Regions from separate parts of the Homo sapiens genome. Here all the other regions are linked to region 5. Evidence: promoter capture Hi-C in human tissues and cell types (Jung and others, 2019). All regions are on one chromosome and are shown on one strand. Each heading gives the region's core, a stretch centred on a gene start or on the middle of the fragment in contact. The rest is flanking DNA. Distances are from core to core; before and after follow the strand shown.

What was found. The method cuts DNA at HindIII sites, captures the fragments that hold promoters and counts their contacts. A contact is called where the count stands out against the background at its distance.
Region 1: a contact is called between the fragment with the promoter of ODF2 here and the fragment with the promoter of LRRC8A in region 5, in 8 of the 25 tissues and cell types used here (adrenal gland, dorsolateral prefrontal cortex, heart left ventricle and 5 more).
Region 2: a contact is called between a fragment that was not itself captured here and the fragment with the promoter of LRRC8A in region 5, in 1 of the 25 tissues and cell types used here (dorsolateral prefrontal cortex).
Region 3: a fragment that was not itself captured here is called in contact with the fragment with the promoter of LRRC8A in region 5 in 1 of the 25 tissues and cell types used here (lymphoblastoid cells).
Region 4: a contact is called between a fragment that was not itself captured here and the fragment with the promoter of LRRC8A in region 5, in 4 of the 25 tissues and cell types used here (dorsolateral prefrontal cortex, liver, lymphoblastoid cells and 1 more).
Region 6: the fragment with the promoter of CERCAM here is called in contact with the fragment with the promoter of LRRC8A in region 5 in 3 of the 25 tissues and cell types used here (dorsolateral prefrontal cortex, lymphoblastoid cells and spleen).
Region 7: a contact is called between a fragment that was not itself captured here and the fragment with the promoter of LRRC8A in region 5, in 2 of the 25 tissues and cell types used here (dorsolateral prefrontal cortex and liver).

Annotation. Positions count from the first base shown.
Region 1 is chr9:128,454,555-128,457,437 of GRCh38, forward strand. ODF2 (outer dense fiber of sperm tails 2) reads left to right here and starts at 1,452. Exons shown (of 21, transcript NM_001351578.2): 1 at 1,452-1,701. The coding sequence starts at 1,538. RefSeq lists enhancers at 525-1,261, 1,135-1,224, 1,262-1,997, 1,355-1,404, 1,998-2,733 and 1 more and silencers at 1,625-1,934, 2,065-2,164, 2,195-2,344, 2,555-2,604. The HindIII fragment of the contact is 20,941 bases long and covers 1-2,883 here.
Region 2 is chr9:128,496,213-128,499,049 of GRCh38, forward strand. It overlaps ODF2 (outer dense fiber of sperm tails 2), which reads left to right. Exons shown (of 21, transcript NM_001351578.2): 19 at 2,201-2,363; 20 at 2,789-2,837. Among named protein-coding and RNA genes, the nearest start is that of GLE1, 7.1 kb to the right of the region's middle. The HindIII fragment of the contact is 9,273 bases long and covers 1-2,837 here.
Region 3 is chr9:128,438,006-128,440,936 of GRCh38, forward strand. No RefSeq gene overlaps it. Among named protein-coding and RNA genes, the nearest start is that of ODF2, 17 kb to the right of the region's middle. RefSeq lists a silencer at 613-786. The HindIII fragment of the contact is 5,750 bases long and covers 1-2,931 here.
Region 4 is chr9:128,515,948-128,519,007 of GRCh38, forward strand. The region is part of intron 3 of GLE1 (GLE1 RNA export mediator); the gene reads left to right. Among named protein-coding and RNA genes, the nearest start is that of GLE1, 13 kb to the left of the region's middle. The HindIII fragment of the contact is 4,090 bases long and covers 1-3,060 here.
Region 5 is chr9:128,880,665-128,883,640 of GRCh38, forward strand. LRRC8A (leucine rich repeat containing 8 VRAC subunit A) reads left to right here and starts at 1,469. Exons shown (of 4, transcript NM_019594.4): 1 at 1,469-1,586. KYAT1-SPOUT1 (KYAT1-SPOUT1 readthrough) reads right to left here and starts at 1,286. Exons shown (of 25, transcript NR_182311.1): 1 at 1,233-1,286. It overlaps KYAT1 (kynurenine aminotransferase 1), which reads right to left and starts at 1,286. Exons shown (of 13, transcript NM_004059.5): 1 at 1,233-1,286. RefSeq lists an enhancer at 1,356-1,505 and a silencer at 1,536-1,815. The HindIII fragment of the contact is 17,929 bases long and covers 1-2,976 here.
Region 6 is chr9:128,419,516-128,422,235 of GRCh38, forward strand. CERCAM (cerebral endothelial cell adhesion molecule) reads left to right here and starts at 1,342. Exons shown (of 13, transcript NM_016174.5): 1 at 1,342-1,559. The coding sequence starts at 1,363. RefSeq lists a silencer at 728-1,627 and an enhancer at 1,888-2,077. The HindIII fragment of the contact is 34,497 bases long and covers 1-2,720 here.
Region 7 is chr9:128,476,202-128,479,099 of GRCh38, forward strand. The region is part of intron 8 of ODF2 (outer dense fiber of sperm tails 2); the gene reads left to right. Among named protein-coding and RNA genes, the nearest start is that of ODF2-AS1, 4.6 kb to the left of the region's middle. The HindIII fragment of the contact is 8,207 bases long and covers 1-2,898 here.

The DNA of each region.
Region 1 (2,883 bases), core at 202-2,701, 430 kb before region 5:
TTTTTTTTGAGACAAGAGTCTCACTCTGTCACCCAGGCTGAAGTGTAGTGGTGATTTTGGCTCACTGCAACCTCCGCCTTCCAGGTTCAAGGAATTCTCCCTGCCTCCTCCTCCCTAGTAGCTGGGATTACAGGCACACACCACCATGCCCGGTTAATTTTTGTATTTTTAGTAGAGACGGGGTTTCGCTATGTTGGGCAGTCTGGTCTTGAACTTCTGACCTTAGGTGATCCGCCTGCCTCAGCCTCCCAAAGTGCTGGGACTACAGGCGTGAGCCACCGCAGTCTTAAATGGTTAATGAGGATTAGGAAATCTATCAATTATTCAACAGAGAGACAATGAATGGATCAAGGGATTGGGGAGCTCCCTGACATTACAGAACAAATTCAGTATGCAGTATACTGTGAAAGCGAGGCGGAAAAGCAGGTTTTGTTTGCGAGTCTGACTTTAGGATTGCAGGTGAAACACTTGTGTGACCCTGGAGCTGTGTGGCTAAGGTGCTGCGGGGTCACTGGAGAAAGGTCAAGGGACTGTGGCCCAGTTGGCCCGGAGGTGGTTCAGGTCTCCCAGATTCCAGGGCGGCATTATGAGCCACGTGACAGACCTCCCCTGACTGGCTGACAGTGAAGCATAATTGAGAAGATGGCGGACCAGCAAGGACCTCATCAGAATAGGTCTGTACACAGAGCGGCATAGAGAGTGCAGGAGGGTAGTAGACCGGGCGCGGAGGCTCAAGCCTGTAATACAAGCACTTTGGAAGGCCGAGGCGGGTGGATCATGAGGTCAGGAGATGGAGACTATCCTGCCCAACACGGTGAAACCCCGTCTCTACTAAAAATACAAAAAAAAATTAGCCGGGCGTTGTGGCGGGCGCCAGTAGTCCCAGTTACTCGGGAGGCTCAGGCAGGAGAATGGCGTGAACCCGGGAGGCGGAGGTTGCGGTGAGCCGAGATCGCGCCACTGCACTCCAGCCTGGGCAACAGAGCAAGAATCTGTCTCAAAAAAAAAAAAAAAAAAAAAAAAAAAAAAAAAAAAAAAAGTGCAGGAAGGTAGTGAACAGAACAGCAAGGGGAATGCCGACCCTTTCTCCTGTTGGGGCCAAGACAGAGGCGATGTGGGCAGGGGAGAGGCCGGGGAATGCGCAGAAGCCGACTCCATCTCCGCATTAATAGTGGACTAGGGGCAGGGCTGGATTTTCGGAGGCAGTGTGCAGCTCCCAATAACTAGTTCCATGGGTCCTCTGTGAGCCTAGTTTCCTGGTGGGTACCGAGGGGAGGGCGTCGGAACCGTACGCTCCTTTGAGTGAGGGGAATCCGGGAGGATCCAAGGCAGGGGAAACAGGGCCGAGCGGGAAAGGCCTTGAATGGGGGGCGAGACCCGGCCAGGCCCGCTGGACGCGTAGCACGTCTCCTTGGTGACGGGACGCGTGGCCCGGAAGTGGGCGGCCCTTCTGGCGGGGCGGGGCATCTCTGTGACGCTAGGGGCTGGGCCTCGATGGCGAAACCCAAGCGGCTCCCGGGGGGGTTTGAACTGGCCAATGGGCGAGCTGCCGACCGGGTGTCGGAAAAGGAGGCGGAAGCGGGGAGGAGCCGCTGCCAGAGCCAGACTGCATCCGCCGCGGCGTCTCCATGGCACGACCCTGGCCTCCGACTTCAACGACTTCATAAGGCGGCGTTTCTGGGCGCAGCCGTGTCGCTCCTGGTGAGAGGCCGCCGGCAGGCGGGATCCAGCGCCCTCCGGGGCACCGCGGGCGAGACCGTCGCCTTCGCACCCCCGGCGCGGTCGACCCCGCGGGGCCGTCGGGTCCTGGGTTCCCCGCCGCGTTGCGCTCGTCCCCCTCCTGTCAGAACCTGGGCCCCCGCCCCGCCCACCGGCGCGGGGCCTCTCCTCCTCCCGCTAACGGGCGGTCGGCCGCCTCCTTCCTCTCTTGGCTACCACGGGGCTCTGCCCCTCCTCTGCCGCCCGCGGGCAGGGCTTCACCTTTCTCTCTATGGGCAGAAACCGGTACCCTCCTGCCTGCTGGTGGGTGGCCGTCCCTTCTCTCCGCCGACAGAGGCTCTCCCTCGCTCTGCTGCCCGTCGGCGGCATCGCCCCGACCGCCTCGTCCTCTCCTCGGGCCTCCACATGGCAGTCACTTGTACGCCCTCCGTAGGCAGCGCTGTCCCCCGGGCACCGTCTCCGGCTTGCCAGGGCCCTCGCCCGGCGGGGGGGGGTCCCGCCCGCCCCCTCCCAGCCCGGCGTCTATCCTGCTCAGAACTCTGTTCGGTTTTCCCTCGCGGCGGGGCGCCCGGGGCCCGTGCAACCTCCGCGCCTCCCTCCTTTAAACACTATTGGTCCTCTCGGGCATCTGTTCTTCCGTAACGCCCCTTCTCCTAGGAGACAGTTGTCCGGCCCCGCCCCAGCATCCCCGCGGCTCCCTGCGCGGTTCTGGCCCTCTGGGGCCCACTTGGGGCCGAGCGGTTCTCACCCGCCCTCTCCGCACGTCCGCCGGCGCCTCAGGTTTCCCCCGGTAGCCACCGGCAGTCCTCCGCGTGGGACCCGGGCGCGGTGGTCCTTTCCCTCGCGGTTCTGCCCCGTCCCCTCCCCTTCCTCCCCTCTGCCCCCAGGTCGCTCAGCCTCTACTATTTCCCCCTACTTTGGCAGGACAGTTGCTGTGCGACTTGGACAGTAGAGGAGCGCCTCCCAAGTTTTCATCCAACTGCCAACCCCAAAGCTTCCACCCTTCTCCCCTCAGAGAGGACGTTTGATGCCGGGCCCCTTGAGAGGCTCATTGACAAGCCTGCCCCTCTGGGTCCCCCTGAGCAGAGCCTGCTGACCCAATTGCCCACCTTTGCGGCTTTGATGCCTAGCCATGTCTGCCTCATCCTCAGGCGGCTCCCCCAG
Region 2 (2,837 bases), core at 338-2,837, 380 kb before region 5:
GCTTAGTGTGCGGAAGTGTTGAGGGACTCGAGGCCCTGGAAGGTACTAGGCAGACCTCAGAGGAAAAGCTGCTTCCATTTCAGTGGTAAGCATTGTGGGAGAGAGCAAGGGGGCCTCTCAGCCTGGGGAGACACTCCATGACAGCATGATCAGGATCTGCCCACCTGTAGGCACCACCTGTCCCAAAAGGCATGCCTGGTCCAGGCCTGCCAGGAGGGCCCAGTTTGAATGGAGCAGCCAGTATACTGTGGTGGGGGCACTTCCCCACTCTTTTCTGCCCTTTCTTGCCAGTCACCCTTCCCAAGACCTTTCTGATCTGACCGTTCTCTGTTATTTACGGATTGTTGGAGGCAGTCAGAGGTGAAGGGTACGGCTTTGGGAATCAGAAGCCCTGGCCTTGGGGCCCAGCTCTGCCACTTACCAGCATTGTGATCTTGAGCAAATCATTTAATTCCTTTGAAGCTCAATTTCCTCCTTTTGAGGAAAGGGTCAAGGTAGAGTTTATCTATCTATCTATCTATCTATCTATCATCTATCTATCATGTCACTCTGTCACCCAGGCTGGAGTGCAGTGGTGCAATCTCAGCTCACTGCAACCTCGACCTCCTGGGCTCAAGCAATTCTCCTGCCACAGCCTCCCAAGTAGCTGGGACTACAGGCGTATGCCACCATGCCTGGCTAATTTTTGTATTTTTTGTAGAGATGGGGTTTCGCCGTGTTGCCCAGGCTGGTCCTGAACTCCTGGGTTCAAGTGATCCACCCACCTAGGCCTCCTAGAGTGCTGGGAGTACAGGCGGGAGCCACCACACCTGGCTGATAATAATCTTTTCATGGTGGTGGTGTGAGTCTTCAATGATATAATCCTGGTAAAGGTCCTAGCATGTTACCTGGCATAGAGAAGCGCTCAGTATAGCTTAGAACATGTTATTAGTTAGCTGGTATTATCCCAGTTTTAAATATGAGGAAACTGAGCTTGGGGAGGAGTTAAGTGACTTTCCCAGCATCACACTGTTGGTACCTGGCAAAGCATGACTTAGACCCGTGACTGTCTTCCTCGAGAGCTTCTGTGAGCATCTCTAAGAGGTAGGCAAGAGGCCGGGCGTGGTGTCTCACGCCTGTAATCCCAGCGTTTTGGGAGGCCGAGGCGGGCGGATCACGAGGTCAGGAGATCGAGGCCATCCTGGCTAACACGGTGAAATCCCGTCTCTACTAAAAAAAAAAAAAAAAAAAAAAAATATATATATATATATATATATATATATATATATATATATGTATAAAATTAGCCGGGCGCAGTGGCGGGCGCCTGTAGTCCCAGCTACTCGGAAGGCTGAGGCAGGAGAATGGCGTGAACCCGGGAGGCGGAGCTTGCATTGAGCCGAGATAGCACCACTGCACTCCAGCCTGGGCGAAAGAGCAAGACTCCATCTCAAAAAAAAAGAGGTGGGCAAGAGTCCTCCAGCCCTGGTCCCAGCCTTAGTTTCAGAGGTGAAGGTGCCTGACATCCTAGGAGGCCCTAAGTGCCTCAGGTGGCCAGTGCACTTGCAAGGAGGCTACAACCAAGTGGGCTCCTTCCAGGCTCCACCTCTGCTCTGCCCTGCCAGCCTTGGAAATGGCAGCTAGATCCCCCAGGCCCTGCAGAGCTCCTTAAATTGGAAGGCATCCTGGAAGTGCACTGAGGACAGTGTGTGTATATCGGGATGGCCATATTTGCCCTATGGCTGGTCACACAAGATGTTGAGTGGTGTAGCTGAAGTCCCTTTGCTGTGGGAGGCAGCAGTGAACAGCAGAAGTTGCAGGCTTAGGTTTTGGTTACAGACTTGCCAGCTGTGCTGACTTCAGGCCAATGAATTCCCCTCTCTGAGGCTCAGTTTCTTCATTTCTGAAGTGGGGATAATAATGGTACCATTTTTCTGAGCTGCAAGTTGCTGTGTTCCATGTGATGCTATCCACACTTAACAAAGCCCACGGTCAGTCTCTGCGTTCCCACCCTTCACTCTGTTCTCTAACCAGTTGCTCCAGCTGCACAGTTCTTTGGTCGCCTTGCTGATCTGCAGATTTCTTTGGCTTATTCCTGTGGCTCCTTGGAGATTCTTGGCATGATGAGATCCCCAGTCCAGGAGAGGCTGGCAGCCCCCTGGCGGGGTGGAACATGACAGGTTGGGGTATGCCCAGGATCTGATTGAGTGCTTTCACCTAGGAAACTGGAGGCGACCAGTGCCCAGAATATCGAGTTCCTACAGGTGATTGCCAAGAGGGAGGAGGCAATCCACCAGTCCCAGCTGCGGCTGGAGGAGAAAACACGGGAATGTGGGACCCTGGCAAGGCAGTTGGAGAGTGCCATTGAAGATGCGAGGAGGCAGGTCAGTCCCGATTTCATGAATGACTAGCTCTGTGACCTTGGGCAAATCACCTAAACTCTCAGCTTATTTCTCCATCTGAAAAATGGGCACACAGTAGTACCCGCTTCATGAATTAGTTGTAAGGATCACATTTTCATCGTAGAGGGCTCAGCACTTGATATCTGATGATTGCTCATTTACTCACTACCCTCTTGAGCCTCACATAGGCTTACCACATCTTAGGTGGTGACTCCTGGAGCACTGGCAAAGCTGGGTGGCAGGCATAGTCCCCATAGTTAGTTCCTGCCCCAGCGTTCTAGAGAACACAGTCCACAATGATGTGCAAGTGCTGTCTGCAAGACCAGATAGTGGGCCCAGCCTTCTCTTTGCCAAGTGTTCCCCATGTCCGGTAAACCAGTCTCATGTCTGGGCCTTTGAATGTGCAGGTGGAACAAACCAAGGAGCACGCACTCTCCAAGGAGCGAGCAGCCCAGA
Region 3 (2,931 bases), core at 47-2,546, 440 kb before region 5:
TATATACACACACGTATATACACGTATATACACACACGTATATACACGTATATACACACACGTATATACACGTATATATACGTGTATATATGTACACATACGTGTATATACATGTATATATGTATACATACATATATATACATGTATATATATTTGTTTGTTTTTAAGACAGAGTCTCGCTCTGTCACCCAGGCTGGAGTGCAGTGGTGTGATCTCGGCTCACTGCAGCCTCCGCCTCTTGGGTTGAAGCGATTCTCCTTCCTCAGCCTCCCTAGTAGCTGGGATTACAGGCATGTGCCACCACGCCCAGCTAATTTTTGTATTTTTACTTTATATTTTTTAACTCATGGCTGAGCCTCTGCATCTCAGCTGGCCTGGGAGGAGGCTTCCTGATCTATGGTTGAGCAATTGGAGGGACAGAGAGGGGAGGACAGGTGAGGAGTCAGGCCGATCCAGCATCACCTCTGTGCTGGGTGATCTTGGGTGGGTGCCATCCCTTCCCTGGGCCTTAGTCTACTCTTCGGTCATTGTGGCTGGTTGGGTATAGAGTGGCCTAGCCTGAGCCCGGCTCACAGTGAGTGCTCACCTGTTGGGGCTGATGTGGTCATCCCCGAAGTCATTACCAGCCTCACCTTGCTGGTCAGGGTGGGCCCAGCCAGTCCAAGGGCTGCTGATGTCCCCCGGCCCTTTGGATCATCTCTTGTGCAGCTGAAACCCTGGCTTAGGGGAAGAGGAACCGCCTGGGAGGGGCTGGGGGAGATCCTGGGTTCCCCTCTGGCACTAACCAATGTGGCCACCAGAGGGCGCAAGGTGGCAGAGCCTGGACTTGGCCAGGATGCTCTCTGCTGGGTTGGGGCCAACACCAGGAAGGAAGCATGGGCCATAGGGAAGCTCCCATTGGTGCTGGGGCAACCCGCAGCAGCTCTGCGTCTTCTGCTCTTCTGATGGGAACTGCAGGCCTCTCCCCTGGCCCCAGAGAGTCGGGCTTCTGGGCCCAGCCGCTGTCTGTCATGCCTGCACTCAGGCAGCTGGAGGGGTGGGAGGGGAGATGGCTCCTGGCCTTGGCCATGGCTGCTTTGGCTTCCACCGTTCCTGCTCCTCTTCCATGTGGCCCCCTGACTTGGTTGTGTGAGCACTCCAGTCCTGGCAGAGCCTGACAGGCACTCCCTGAGGTTGGGGTATCCCTTGGCTCTGTCCTGGGGTTGAGGTCCAGGACCTGGCACGGCTGTGAGAAGGACCTTGGGCTGGAGCTGTGGACTCGGTGCTTTATTCGTTCTAAGATGAAAGTCATTCATTCTGGATGGCTATGACCTTGAGCGACTCACTTCTCTCCAGGCTCCAGGTGTCCCCTTCATTCATTTGTTAACCTTTATTAAGCACCTCCCATGGGCCGCAGTCAGGCCCTGGGGATTCAGCAGTGAATGAAACTGACAAAACCCCTGACCTCATTAAACTGACATTCTTTTTTTTCTTTTTTTTTTGTGGCGGAGTCTCACTCTATCACCTTCTGTCACCACACCCGGCCAAAACTGACATCCTAATGAGGGATGCAGACAAAAACAAAGAAAGATCAGAGGGTGTGAATTGCTATAGAGAAAAATGAGAAGCGGAGAGATACAAAGTAAGATCTGAGAAGTTAACACCTGAACAAAGACGCAGGAGTGGGCCAGGCATAGTTGCTCATGCCTGTAATCCTAGCACTTTGGAAGGCCTAAGCAGATGGATCACTGGAGGCCAGGAGTTTGAGACCAGCCTGGCCAACATAGGGAAATCCCATCTCTATTAAAAATACAAAAATTAGTCAGGTGTGCTAGCGGGCGCCTGTAATGCCAGCTACTCGGGAGACTGAAGCAGGAGAATCACTTGAACCTGGGAGGTGGAGGTTGCAGTGAGCTGAGCTTGCACCACTGCACTCCAGCTTGGGCGACAGAGTGAGACTCCATCTCAAAAACAAAAGACTTCGCCAGGCAGGGTGGCTCACACCTGTAATCCCACCATTTTGGGAGGGCGAGGCAGGTGGATCACGAGGTCAGGAGTTCAAGACCAGCCTGGCCAAGAGGGTGAAACCCCGTCTCTACTAAAAATACAAAAATTAGCCAGGTGTGGTGGTGGGCGCCTGTAGTCCCAGCTACGTGGGAGGCTGAGGAAGAGAATTGCTTGAACCTGGGAGGCAGAGGTTGCAGTGAGCCGAGATCAAACCACTGCACTCCAGCCTGGGTGACAGAGTGAGACTCCGTCTCAAAAAAAAAAAAAAAATAGACAAAAAAAAAAAAAAAAAAGACTTTAAGGAGGGGAGGGGCTGAGCCTTGGGGATAGCAAAAGGAAGAGCTTCCAAGCAGAAGGAACAGCATATGCAAAGGTCCTGAGGCAGAAGCAGGACTGACAGTGCAGAAGAGAGGAGGACCAGTGTCTAGAGTTGATAGAGCCAAGGCTGGGGCCAGAGCAGGGATGGCCATGAAGGCCATTTTGGCTTTTACTCTGAGATGGAGCCCCCAGAGAGATGGAGGCAAAGAAGTAACCATCTAACTTACATTTTTACATGATCACCCTGGCAGAGATGTGGCATGATCTCATGTAGTGTTATAAGATCACACCGGCTACTGTGCTGAGAATAAACTGTAGGCAGGTCCATGGAAGAAACAGTGAGACCAGTTAGGAACCCACTGTAATAATTCAAGCATGGCTGGGCGTGGTGGCTTATGCGTATAATCCTAGCACTTTGGGAGGCTGAGACGGGTGGATCACCTGAGGTCAGGAGTTCGAGACCAGCCTGGCCAACATGGTGAAACCTCATCTCTACTAAAAATACAAAAAAGTCGGGCGTGGTGGTGGGTGCCTGTAATCCCAGCTACTCAGGAGGCTGAGGCAGGAGAATTGCTTGAACCCGGGAGGTGGAGGCTGCAGGGGGCCTAGATCGCACCATTGCACTCC
Region 4 (3,060 bases), core at 396-2,895, 360 kb before region 5:
GCCTCTTTTTTTTTTTTTTTGAGGTGGAGTTTTTGCTCTTGTTGCCCAGGCTGGACTGGACTACAGTGGTGTAATCTTGGCTCACTGCAACCTCCACCTCCCAGGTTCAAGTGATTCTCCTGCCTCAGCCTCCCAAGTAACTAGGATTACAGGCTCGCGCCACCACACCCAGCTACTTTATTTTCTATTTACTAGAGACGGGGTTTCACTATGTTGGTCAGGCTGGTCTCGAACTCCTGACCTCAGGTGATTCACCTGCCTCAGCCTCCCAAGGTGCTGGGATTACAGGCATGAGCCACGATGCCCAGTCAGGACCTTAGCCTCTTGAAAAAATAGCAGCACTATTTTAATTAATTTATTTGATTGTATTTTGTTTTTGTTTTTGTTTTTGAGATGGAGTCTTGCTCTGTTGCCCAGGCTGTAGTACAGTGGCACCATCTCGGCTCACCGCAAGCTCCGCCTCCCAGGTTCATGCTATTCTCTTGCCTCAGCCTCCCAAGTAGCTGGGACTACAGGTGCCTGTCACCACGCCCAGCTAATTTTTTGTATTTTTAGTGGAGACAGGGTTTTGCCGTGTTAGCCAGGACGGTCTTGATCTTCTGACCTCGTGATCTGCCCGCCTCGGCCTCCCAGAGTGCTGGGATTACAGGCATGAGCCACCGTGCCCGGCCTGTTTTTTGTTTTTGTTTTTTTGAGACAGAGTCTTGCTGTTGTCAGCCCGGGCTGGAGTGCAGTGGTGCAATCTTGGCTCACTGCAACCTCCGCCTCCTGGGTTCCAGCAATTCTCCTGCCTGAGCCTCCCAAGTAGCTGAGATTACAGGCGCCTGCCACCACGCCTGGCTAATTTTTGTATTTTTTAGTAGAGACGGGGTTTCACCGTGTTGGCCAGGCTGGTCTCAAACTCCTGACCTCAGGTGATCCACCCACCTCAGCCTCCCAAAGTGCTGGGATTACAGGCATAAGCCACTGCGCCCAGCATGTATTTTTTTTTAATTAGGAAAGCAATGCATGATCTTGTAAAAATGTTTCAGAGTACAGGAATTTAGAAAATGAAAGTCTTGGCCAGGCACGGAGGCTCATGCCCGTAATCCCAGCACTTTGGGAGGGTGAGGCAGGTGGATCACCTGAGATAAGGAGTTCCAGACTGGCCTGGCCAACATGGCGAAACCCCATCTCTACTAAAAATACAAAAATTAGCCGGGCATGGTGGCACATGCCTATAATACTAGTTACTGGGGAGGCTGAGGCAGGAGAATCACTTGAACCCGGGAGGCAGAGGTGGCAGTGAGCCAAGATTGTGCCACTGCACTCTAGCCTGGGCAGCAGGGCAATACTTTATCTCAAAAAAAAAAAAGAAAAAGAAAATGAAAGTCTTCTAACATCTTGCCTCATTGGTCATTGAGTCAATAAATATTTGCTGAGCACCTATGTGCTAGATGCTGTTCCAGGTCTAGATAAAACAGTAAACATTATAGACATAGAGCTTATATTGTGGTGGGAAGAGACAGAAGTAAACAAGAGAAATAAGTAAAATATTTGGAACATTGTTGTAATCTGGGTGAAAGATGGTGGTTGCTTAGAGTAGGGTGGTAGCAATGGAGATGGTGAGAAACGACTAATTCTGCATATCAGAGTTGTTTTAATTCAAAGATTTATTTCCTGCATCTTTGGAAATTTTTCCCCTTGATTAGTTCACCTCTCCATTGCCTAAGTTAATCCTCTATATGTCCTATTCTTTCTTTCATTTTCCTTTTGTCTTATTGTTTTGTTTTCTAGAAGATTTCTATATTTTATTCTCCACCTGTTGATTGAAAAAATATATATGTATTTATTATGTCTAATTTTCATGAGTTTTTTTGTATTCTCCACTTCTTCCTTTTTCAGAGCATCTTATTCTCATTTCTTATCATATTCAGAGCTCTTTTTCAGATTCACTTGTGTTCCTTGATATACATGTCCTTCTGGATTCATTATTTTTTATTTGTTCATCTTGATCCCTTTTAGGATATAGAGATTCCTCAGTTATCTAAAGATCCTTATTGCTAGTAATCAGATCAGAGATTCAAGGGGAATAATCAGAAACAAGGTTATTAAGCTTTAGGACTTCCTAAGTGCCAGCATATTGTTTTGGAATACTAGTTCCCATACTGATTAGCTGTTTCTGGACAGTTTATTCATTTTCTTAAAAAAAACTCACGTGCCTGGCCTATTTTTTTTTTTTTCCGTATTCTGTTAGTCACGGTAGTCATAAAGTCCACTCAGGTTGAAGTAGAGGGTATGGAAGGATTGTCAGACAATTTGCAGATCTGTTTTAAAATCATTACAGCACAGGGCCGGGCCTGTTGGCTCACACCTGTAATCCCAGCACTTTCGGAGGCCGAGGCAGGCAGATCACTTGAGGTCAGGAGTTTGACACCAGCCTGGCCAACACAGTAAAACCCTGTCTCTACTAAAAATACAAAAATTAGGCAGGCATAGTGGTGCACGCCTGTAATCCCAGCTACTCAGGAGGCTGAGGCTGGACAATCACTCGAACCTGGGAGGTGGAGGTTGCAGTGAGCCAAAATCGCACCACTGTACTCCAGCCTGGGTGACAGAGTTGAGAATCCGTCTCTAAAAAATAAAAAATAAAAATAAAATAGCTGGACATGGTGGCTTGCACTGGTAATCCCAGCACTTTGGGAGGCCGTGGTGGATGGATCACGAGGTCGGGAGTTCGAGACCAGCCTGGCCAACATAGTGAAACCCCGTCTCTACTAAAAATACAAAAATTAGCCAGGCATGGTGGCAGGCACCTGTAGTCCCAGCTACTTGGGAGGCTGAGGGAGGAGAATCGCTTGAACCCAGGAGGCGGAGTTTGCAGTGAGCCAAGATTGCACCACTACACTCCAGCCTGGGCGACAGAGCGAGACTCCAAAAAAAAAAAAAAAAGCTGGGCACTGTTGCGGGAAGTCAGGGACCCCAAATGGAGGGACTGGCTGAAGCCATGGCAGAAGAACATGGATTGTGAAGATTTCATGGACATTTATTAGTTCCCCAAATTAATACTTTTATAATTTC
Region 5 (2,976 bases), core at 219-2,718:
ATCTACTGACCTCGTGATCCGCCCGCCTCAGCCTCCCAAAGTGCTGGGATTACAGGTGTGAACCACCGCGCCCGGCCCTGGCTATGATATTGCTAAGTTTCCTAACCTCTCTAAGGTTCTTTTCTCTTCTATTAAAAGGGAAAAATAAGACCTCCCAACAGAAGTGAAACTAGGCATTGGCTTAACACGTGATGGATGGGAGCCACGACTATCTTCATCATCTTATTTTTAATTATCTATCTGTGCACATGGTAGTAAATTTCTCGCCCTGGCCCAGGTACCCAAGACCCCAATTCTGTCGGAGACAACCGCAATTAACAACTTCTTGTGCATCTTATCAGACAGCTGGCGCGCACACCCGCAGATACGCCCACCCTCAGGCGTCCTTCTACGCAAAGATGGATAGCACCCATCAACGCTGTTTTTTCTTTTTTTAGACGGAGTCTCGCTCTGTCGCCCAGGCTGGAGTGCAGCGGCGCGATCTCGGCTCACTGCAAGCTCCACCTCCCGAGTTCATGCCATTCTCCTGCCTCAGCCTCCAGAGTAGCTGGGACTACAGGCGCCCACCACCACGCCCGGCTGATTTTTTTGTATTTTTAGTAGAGATGAGGTTTCACCAAGTTAGCCAGGATGGTCTCGATCTCCTGACCTCGTGATCCGCCCGCCTCGGCCTCCCAAAGTGCTGGGATTACAGACGTGAGCCACCGCAACCGGCCCAACGCTGTTTTTACTGTTGTTTCCTTTTTTAACCTAAGGTATCTTAGAAGTCACCCTACATTAGTGCATATTAAACATTGTTCGTCTTAATGGCTGCACAGTATTCCACTGTATGGATTATTTTTTAATTTGGTTGCCGGTACTGTTATCAGCCAGGGAATTTGCGAGGACCCAGCGGGATTTATGGAGCTGCAGAGTTGGAGTCTGGGGACCCAATTCCAACCCCAGATCTGTCCAGAATTCTGTTGTCTCGGGTATCATCTCCACCGGCGCGGTCGTGGGAGGGGGATTTGGGTGCAGACAGGACCAGCCCCAGTGTCCGAGCGAGAATCAGCGAGCAGCACGCGCAGTTGATTCCCGCGGGCGGCTCAATCATTCTGTGCAGCCACTCCGTTATACTTAGTAGCATCAAACTCATTAAGCACTCTAGCACAACCAAGCTCGGAACCGTTAGCCGACCCTCCCAGCCTCGGCACCTGACCTTGGGGAAGTGGCGCTCCGACACAGCTACTCACCCTCACCTGGGCCGCTTCACCCCTCGTTCCCAAGTACACCCCGTAGGTTGCAGCAGTCCCTGTCCCTTTAAGGGGGCCGAGCCCGGCTCCGCTACTTCCGCCCCGAAGCAGCAGGGCGCTAGCGCGGAGGCGAGAGCGGGAGAAAGCGCCGCTAGAATTCTCCTCATAAAGATGGCGACGCCCTGGCCGCCGCGTTCGCGCCCGGCGGTGACGTCACTTCCGGGGCGGAGGAGGCTGAGTGGTGCAGTGAGGGACAAACAAAAGGAGGCGCCGGAGCAGCGCTGCGGCCGGCGGCGGGACGGAGCGGCCGGGGCCTGGGGCTGCCTGCCGGGCGGCCGGGCGCGGCGAGCCCAGGTGAGTGGACGGGGTGGGGAAAGGGGCGCGAGCTGTCACCTCTCGAAACCCACTTACACACGCCCTCGGCCAGCTGCCCGGCCCGGGGCGCCCGGGGCATCTGGGGCTCTGTCTCCGGGCCGGCCCCCTGGGGACCTCCCGCGGTGTTCGGCCTACCTCTGGGCTCCCCAGTGCCCGGAGTCTCCGGGGCACCACCTTCTCGCCGGCTCCGCGGCGCGCGAGCCCCCTCCCAGGCACCCCTGTGCCTCCTTGTGCTTCAGAAACCAGGAGTTTCCGCCTCGGCTCCCCCATGTCCCCTTGTCATCCCCTGGGTCCCCCCAGATCCTCACCCCTCCACACACACTCTCCCGTTCCTAGAGGTTCCACCTCTGGGCTCTCTCCTTGCCATTTCTTTTTCAAAGATTTCCTTAGCTGTCTTCTCCTGAGTTCCTGGTCCCCTTCTCTTCCCTTGCACCCCTCCTTCCTATCGTTCCGATGGGGGCAGTGCCCTGACTTGGGGGCAGGATCCCCGGCTAGGCTCTTGGGGCCTTTCTGGGATGGGATATTTGGGAAGACCGGTCCGGAATCTAAGAACCCAGACCCTGTCCCAGTCCTGTGCATTCAGGTGGGCCCGAGGGCGAGGCGAGATCCAGTGAGGTCCAGGCCTGGTGCAGCCCTAGGTGAGCTGGATACCCAGCAAACTGAGCTCCCAGGCTGAAGGGGCATAGCTGGGGTCATGGAGTTCATGATGATTCTGCTGCTTTCGCTGACTGCTTCTTCCCCTTGATCTGGACCGGGGTGAACCGAGGTCTGCCGGTTCTCAGCTGTTGCGATTGTTGCCTTTTTTGGGAAGGAGGGATGGGTCGGGGGTTGTCTGGTAGCCGCCTCCTGATGGAGACTTGGCTGGAAGGGTGGGCGGTTCCTGGGTGAGCCACACTTCCACTGACTCCTCTTCCCCTGCCCTACCTCAGGAAGCCTTTTGAGAATGAGGTGTGGAGGGAGAGCACCTGGTAAGAGGAAGGGAACTGGGGGAGCCCGAAGTTCCCAAGGACCTCTTCCACCTCTTCTGTTAGTAGTACTCTTAACCCCTGCCAAACTGTATTCTGCCCTTTGGAGCAGACAACCTGGCAGACAGACAGGCTGTAAGAAGCGGGAGGAGATCGGCTGTTGCTGATACTTCCTGTGGAGGGGATGTGGGAGTGGGAGTTTGTTCAGAGAGACTGGGCAGTGCTGATTGCTCAGTCTCACTGGTGTTGCTTCCATGAAGGTCAAGTCTTCCTCTGGCTCATGAAGTGAGGCAAGGACAGATGACCTGTGCTGGAGGAGGCTGTTGTGGACATGCCAGGGATGAGTGACTGGGTGGCTGGTCTCTGCTTCCTTGTTTTCCTGGTCTCAGGGCTTTGGCATGGGG
Region 6 (2,720 bases), core at 92-2,591, 460 kb before region 5:
CTGCCAGTGCATTCATTCTCTCGAGGAATCCCTGCAAACCCTCCCAGATGGGTGGCGTTATCAGCCCGATTTTACCCGAGAGGCTCCTGAGGGAAAGGGACCTGTCTGAGGTTGGTGACAGACACCCAGTTCGATCCCATCTGTGGTGCCGCCAGGCCGCTCCCTTTTCTGCTCCTCTCCCGAGAGGCTGCAGAGTTCTTTCCCTCCCAGCAGGGTCCTAAGGACCCCGGCGGTGCTCCAGGGGAGCCAACATCCCCTGCTTTGGAGGACGGACGGGTCGGGTCGCAGTGAGCAGCTCCGTGGTGTCCCCTAGTTCTACACTCAGACCAAGAGAGGGCTGTGAGGGCTGTGCTCTTTTTTTTTTTTTCTTTTTGAGACGGAGTCTCGGTCTGTCATCCAGGCTGTAGTGCAGTGGCGCGATCTCGGCTCACTGCAACCTCCGCCTCCCGGGTTCAAGCGATTCTCCTGCCTCAGCCTCCCAAGTAGCTGGGAGTACAGGCACCCGCCACGACGCCCGGCTAATTTTTGTATTTTTAGTACAGATGGGATTTCACCATCTTGGCCAGGCTGGTCTTGAACTGATCTCAGGTGATCCTCCCGCCTCGGTCTCCCAAAGTGCCGGGATTACAGGCGTGAGCTACCACGCCCGGCCTGGCTGTGCTCTCTTAAAGGGCCGAAGCAATGCGGGTGCTGGCGACCGACGCAAGGAGGTGACGCACAGGGGACTTAAGGAGCGGACCGCCGCGGGAGGACGCGCCCAGCTCAGGGGGACTCCCTCTGCGCCCCCCACGCTGGGTCTCCGGCCCACGCGTGGCCCGGCTGGTCTGCGGAGCTAGCGCCAGGGCCGCCAGAGGGCGCCCGGGGCGGAGGATGGGGCGGGAGCCGGGGAAGCCCGGGAGGTGGTGGCCGAGTGGGCGCCGCCCCTCTGGGTCTGCGGCTCAGGTCGAAGAGTCGGCTGCGTGGGCCGGGGAATCCGGATTCCGGGGGTTCAACGCCCAGGGGTTCCATGAGCCCCTACTGTTCTCGGACGCCCGGCCGGCCCCGACGCACTCGTCCTAGCACCCCTCCCCTGTCCGGTCCTCCGGCCCCTCCGCCGTCGCCCCTCCGGGGTCCAGCCGGGCGGGGCTGCTCCAGGGTCGCGGCTGGCGCGGGTCCCCGGGCCCTGGCCCTCCGGTGCCCCGGGCCAAGGAGAGAAAACTTGAGCATCCACGCACAGGGGTGGGGAGCAGGATCCCACTCTGAGGGTGCACTGCCCCGCCCTCTCCGGGTCTGCCTCGGCCCCGCCCGGGCCCCAGGCCCCGCCCCCTCCCCTCGGCCGGCCCGAGAGCTCCGGGGGCCGCTGCAGCCGCCCAAGCGCCCGCCATGCGCGCTGCCCGCGCCGCGCCGCTGCTCCAGCTGCTGCTCCTGCTGGGGCCGTGGCTGGAGGCTGCGGGCGTTGCGGAGTCGCCGCTGCCCGCCGTGGTCCTTGCCATCCTGGCCCGCAATGCCGAACACTCGCTGCCCCACTACCTGGGCGCTCTGGAGCGGCTGGACTACCCCCGGGCCAGGATGGCCCTCTGGTGAGAGACCCGGGCATTGGCACCGAGTGGGCACCTAACCCCCAGCTTCGCAGATGGCCCCCGCCCCCGGCGGCCCTGTCTGCTCGCTCCCTGCCCAGACACCACCTAGACAGGCCCCTCCCCTCACAGACGGCCCTGCCAGCCCGAGCCGCCAGAGAGGACCCCGAGCCCCCTGCTGGGAGACGACAGACCTCTGAGGCCACAGGCCGACGCGGGACACCCACCCCTCCTTCTGGTCCCCTACTCCTTCCTCTTGGGGCCTTCCCTGGGTGTAGGTTGGGCCCAGCCAGCCCTTTTCACCCCAGCCTTCAGGGCCCAGCTCAACCCCAGTGGGACCTGTGGTTGGCTGGATTTGAAGAGGAGCAGACAGGAACCTCTGAAGTCCACTGGGGCCCAACGTGGCAGGGATCGACCACGCTGGAGGCTTCCGGGCACAGGTTGGGGGTGCCATCAGCACTGGGCTCCGGGCTGTGCAGGGGAGTCAGACCGGCCCCCCCACCGCCCCCGTGCTGGGGCCAGCTCTCTTGGTAGATCTTGGTAGAGGGGCGGGATCCTGTCAGCCAAGGGCAGTCCCCCTTCCTGGAGCCTCTCCCCTCTGGCATCTCTGTACCCCCAGGGCACTGGGATCGAAGGCCACAACCCCTGGTCTGTAGACACCAGAACAGGGAGGAGTCCCTGGCTGAGGTTGGGGGTAAACTGAGAAAAATGACAAGCCACCCTCTTCAACACACCACAGTTGGGCTGGGGGGGTGGAGCCCTGGCCTGGGGAGGCCGCCCACAATTACCACAGTTTGGGAGTTTGTTAGTTCCCACCCCTGTAAGACTTGACACGTAGTCTTCATTTCTGGGGAATTGGCTTAAAGGGGCAGCATCACCCAAAACCTGGGCACTTGGCTAAACCCCCACCTCTGTTATGGGGGCCCCTTCCCCAGGAGAGGGGAGGCTGTGCCCCATGACAGCAGAGCTTGGACCCATCTGCATTCTTAGGGACGCTTAGAGCATGGTTTGGTCCTTATTACAACCTGGGGGTGGAGGAAAGCAGCAGCTCTTCTGTCTAGTCCCCATTCAGAGAGGGACAGGGGCTGGCCTGTGGTCACACAGCCACAGGTCACATAGGTAGGTATCTGCCCACCTAACGAAGGTAACCAGGGAATGCACCAG
Region 7 (2,898 bases), core at 134-2,633, 400 kb before region 5:
ATAAATGGTTGTCTCCTGCTTGGTTCTAAGCAAAGAGATGACAATAGTCTCAAAATGCCAGTGCTAATGAAATGGTGACGTTCTTCTTATTTTTGCTTTTTTATTTGAGACCGAGTTTCACTCTTGCCCAGGCTGGAGTGCAATGGCACAGTCTTGGCTCACTGTAACCTCCACCTCCTGGGTTCAAGTGATTTTCCTGTCTCAGCCTCCCTAGTAGCTGGGATTACAGGTGCATGCCACCACACCGGGCTACTTTTTGTAGTTTTAGTAGAGACGGGGTTTCATCATATTGGTCAGGCTGGTCTCGAACTCCTGACCTCAGGTGATCCACCTGCCTCGGCCTCCCAAAGTGCTGTAATTACAGGCGTGAGCCACCACACCAAGCCCTGTTTTTTTGTTTGTTTCGTTTTGTTTTAACATTGTCAACCTTGTTTTTATCTTTTTTTTTTTTCTTGAGACAGAGTCTTGCTCTGTCGCCCAGGCTAGAGTGCAGTGGCACGATATCGGCTCACTGCAACTTCTGGCCTCCCGAGTTCAAGTGATTCTCCTGCCTCAGCCTCCTGAGTAGCTGGGATTACAGGTGCGTGCCACCATGCCCAGCTAATTTTTGTATTTTTAGTAGAGATGAGGTTTCACTGTGTTGCTCAGGCTGGTCTCGAACTCCTAAACTCAGGCAATCTGCCCACCTCAGCCTCCCAAAATGCTGGGATTACAGGCATGAGCCACCGCGCCCGGCCTTATCTTTAAAAATTAATATATTGGCCGGGTGCAGTGGCTCATGCCTGTAATCCCAGCACTTTGAGAGGCCAAGGCAGGTGGAACACTTGAGGTCAGGAGTTCGAGACCAGCCTGGCCAACATGGTGACACCCCACCTCTACTGAAAATACAAAAATGTGATGGGTACCCGTAATATCAACTACTCGGGAGGCTGAGGCAGGAGAATTGCTTGAACCCAGGAGGGGGGAAGTTGCAGTGAGCCTAGATTGCACCACTATACTCCAGCCTGGGTGACAGAGCGAGACTCTGTCTCAAAAAAAAAAAAAACCTGTTAATATATAAAATAAGGCCAAGTGTGGTGGCTCACGCCTGTAATTCCCACACTCTGGGAGGCCGAGGTGGGAGAATTGCTTGAGGCCAGGAGTTTGAGACCAGCCGGGGCAACACAGTGAGACTTCATCTGTACAAAACATTTTAAATTTAGCCAGGTGTGGTGGCACACACCTATAGTCCTAGCTACTCGGGAGGCTGAGGTGGGAGGATTGCTTGAGCCCTGGAGGTCAAGGCTACAGTGAGCTGAGATTGTGTCACTCACTCAGGCTGAGTGACAGAGTTAGACTGTCCCCCCAAAAAATTATATATATATATAACAAGTAATGTAAAGTGGTATCCTCACTGCCCAGCTTTTTTTTTTCTTTTTTTTTGAGACGGAGTCTCGCTCTGTCACCGAGGCTGGAGTGCAGTGGCGCAATCTCAGCTCACTGCAACCTTCCCCTCACGGGTTCAAGAGATTCTCCTGCCTCAGCCTCCCAAGCAGCTGGGATTACAGGTGCCACTCCCGGCTAATTTTTGTATTTTTAGTTGAGACGGGGTTTCACCATGTTGTCCAGCCTGGTCTCAAACTCCTGACCTCAGGTAATCCACCCGCCTCAGCCTCCCAAAGTGCTGGGATTACAGGGGTGAGCCATTGTGCCCGGCCACTCACCGCCCAGCTTTTAAAATAAGTGTCTACATAGTTGATTCCCTTTTGTGTGTCATTTTGCAATAACCTTGTCTCCCTCCCCTCAGAGGGAAGCTTTATTAATTTTTTTGTTTGTTTTGATACAGAGTCTCACTCTGTCACCCAGGCTGAAGTGGCACAATCTCAGCTCACTGCAGCCTCTACCTCCTGGGTTCAAGCGATTCTCCTGCCTCAACTTCCTGAGTAGCTGGGATTACAGGTGTGCATCACCACACCTGGCTAATTTTTTGTATTTTTAGTAAAGATAGGGTTTTGCTGTGTTGGCCAGGCTGGTCTTGAACGCCTGACCTCAAGTGATCTGTCTGCCTCGGCTTCTGAAATTGTTGCACTCCAGCCTGGATGACAGAGCCAGACACTATCTCAAAAAGGAAAGAAAGCCAGGCATGGCGGCTCACGCCTGTGATCCTAGCACTTTGGGAGGCCGAGGTGGGCAGATTGCCTGAGCTCAGGAATTTGAGACCAGCCTGGGCAACACGGTGAAATCCCATCTCTACTAAAATACAAAAAAATGAGCTGGCATGGCGGTACGCTCCTGTAGTCCCAGTTACTCAGGAGGCTGAGGCAGGAGAATCGCTTGAACCCGGGAGGCAGAGGTTACAGTGAGCCAAGATCATGCCACTGCACTCCAGCCTGGGTGACAGAGTGAGACTCCATCTCAAAAAGGAAAAAAAAAAAAAGCCTCTTGCTCTAGCCAGTTTTCTCCTTTTTTGGTTTCTTAGCTTCTGTCATCCTGGAGTCCCATCTTCAATTGGAGATGAAGGGTCAGCTAATTTGAATTCCCACCCAAAAGTGGTGTTTTGTGCTTTGTCCAGGCTCAGCTCCTTGGTGCCCATCTGTGCTCAGGGCTCCCTCACCATCTCGGTGCTTGCTGGGTAGTGCTCAGTGTGGTGGGGAACTGCTCTGGTTCTGGAGTCCGAGTCGGCTCCAGGGCCCAGTACTACCCCTTCCAGCTGTGTGGCCTCACTTGCCTTCACTTCTCCCAGCCTTAGTCTCCTCCTCTGAGATGGGGGTAGTGATAGTGCATGGCTCTTAGAGTAGGGGGCTTTGGTGAGTTCATGCACATAGGATGGCAGAAGAGTTGGTCAGTGGTTTCAGTGCCCCAGGGGAGGCCTGGAGGGCAGTGAGAACAGCCTCAGGTTCTGCATCCGTGGCCAAGCCT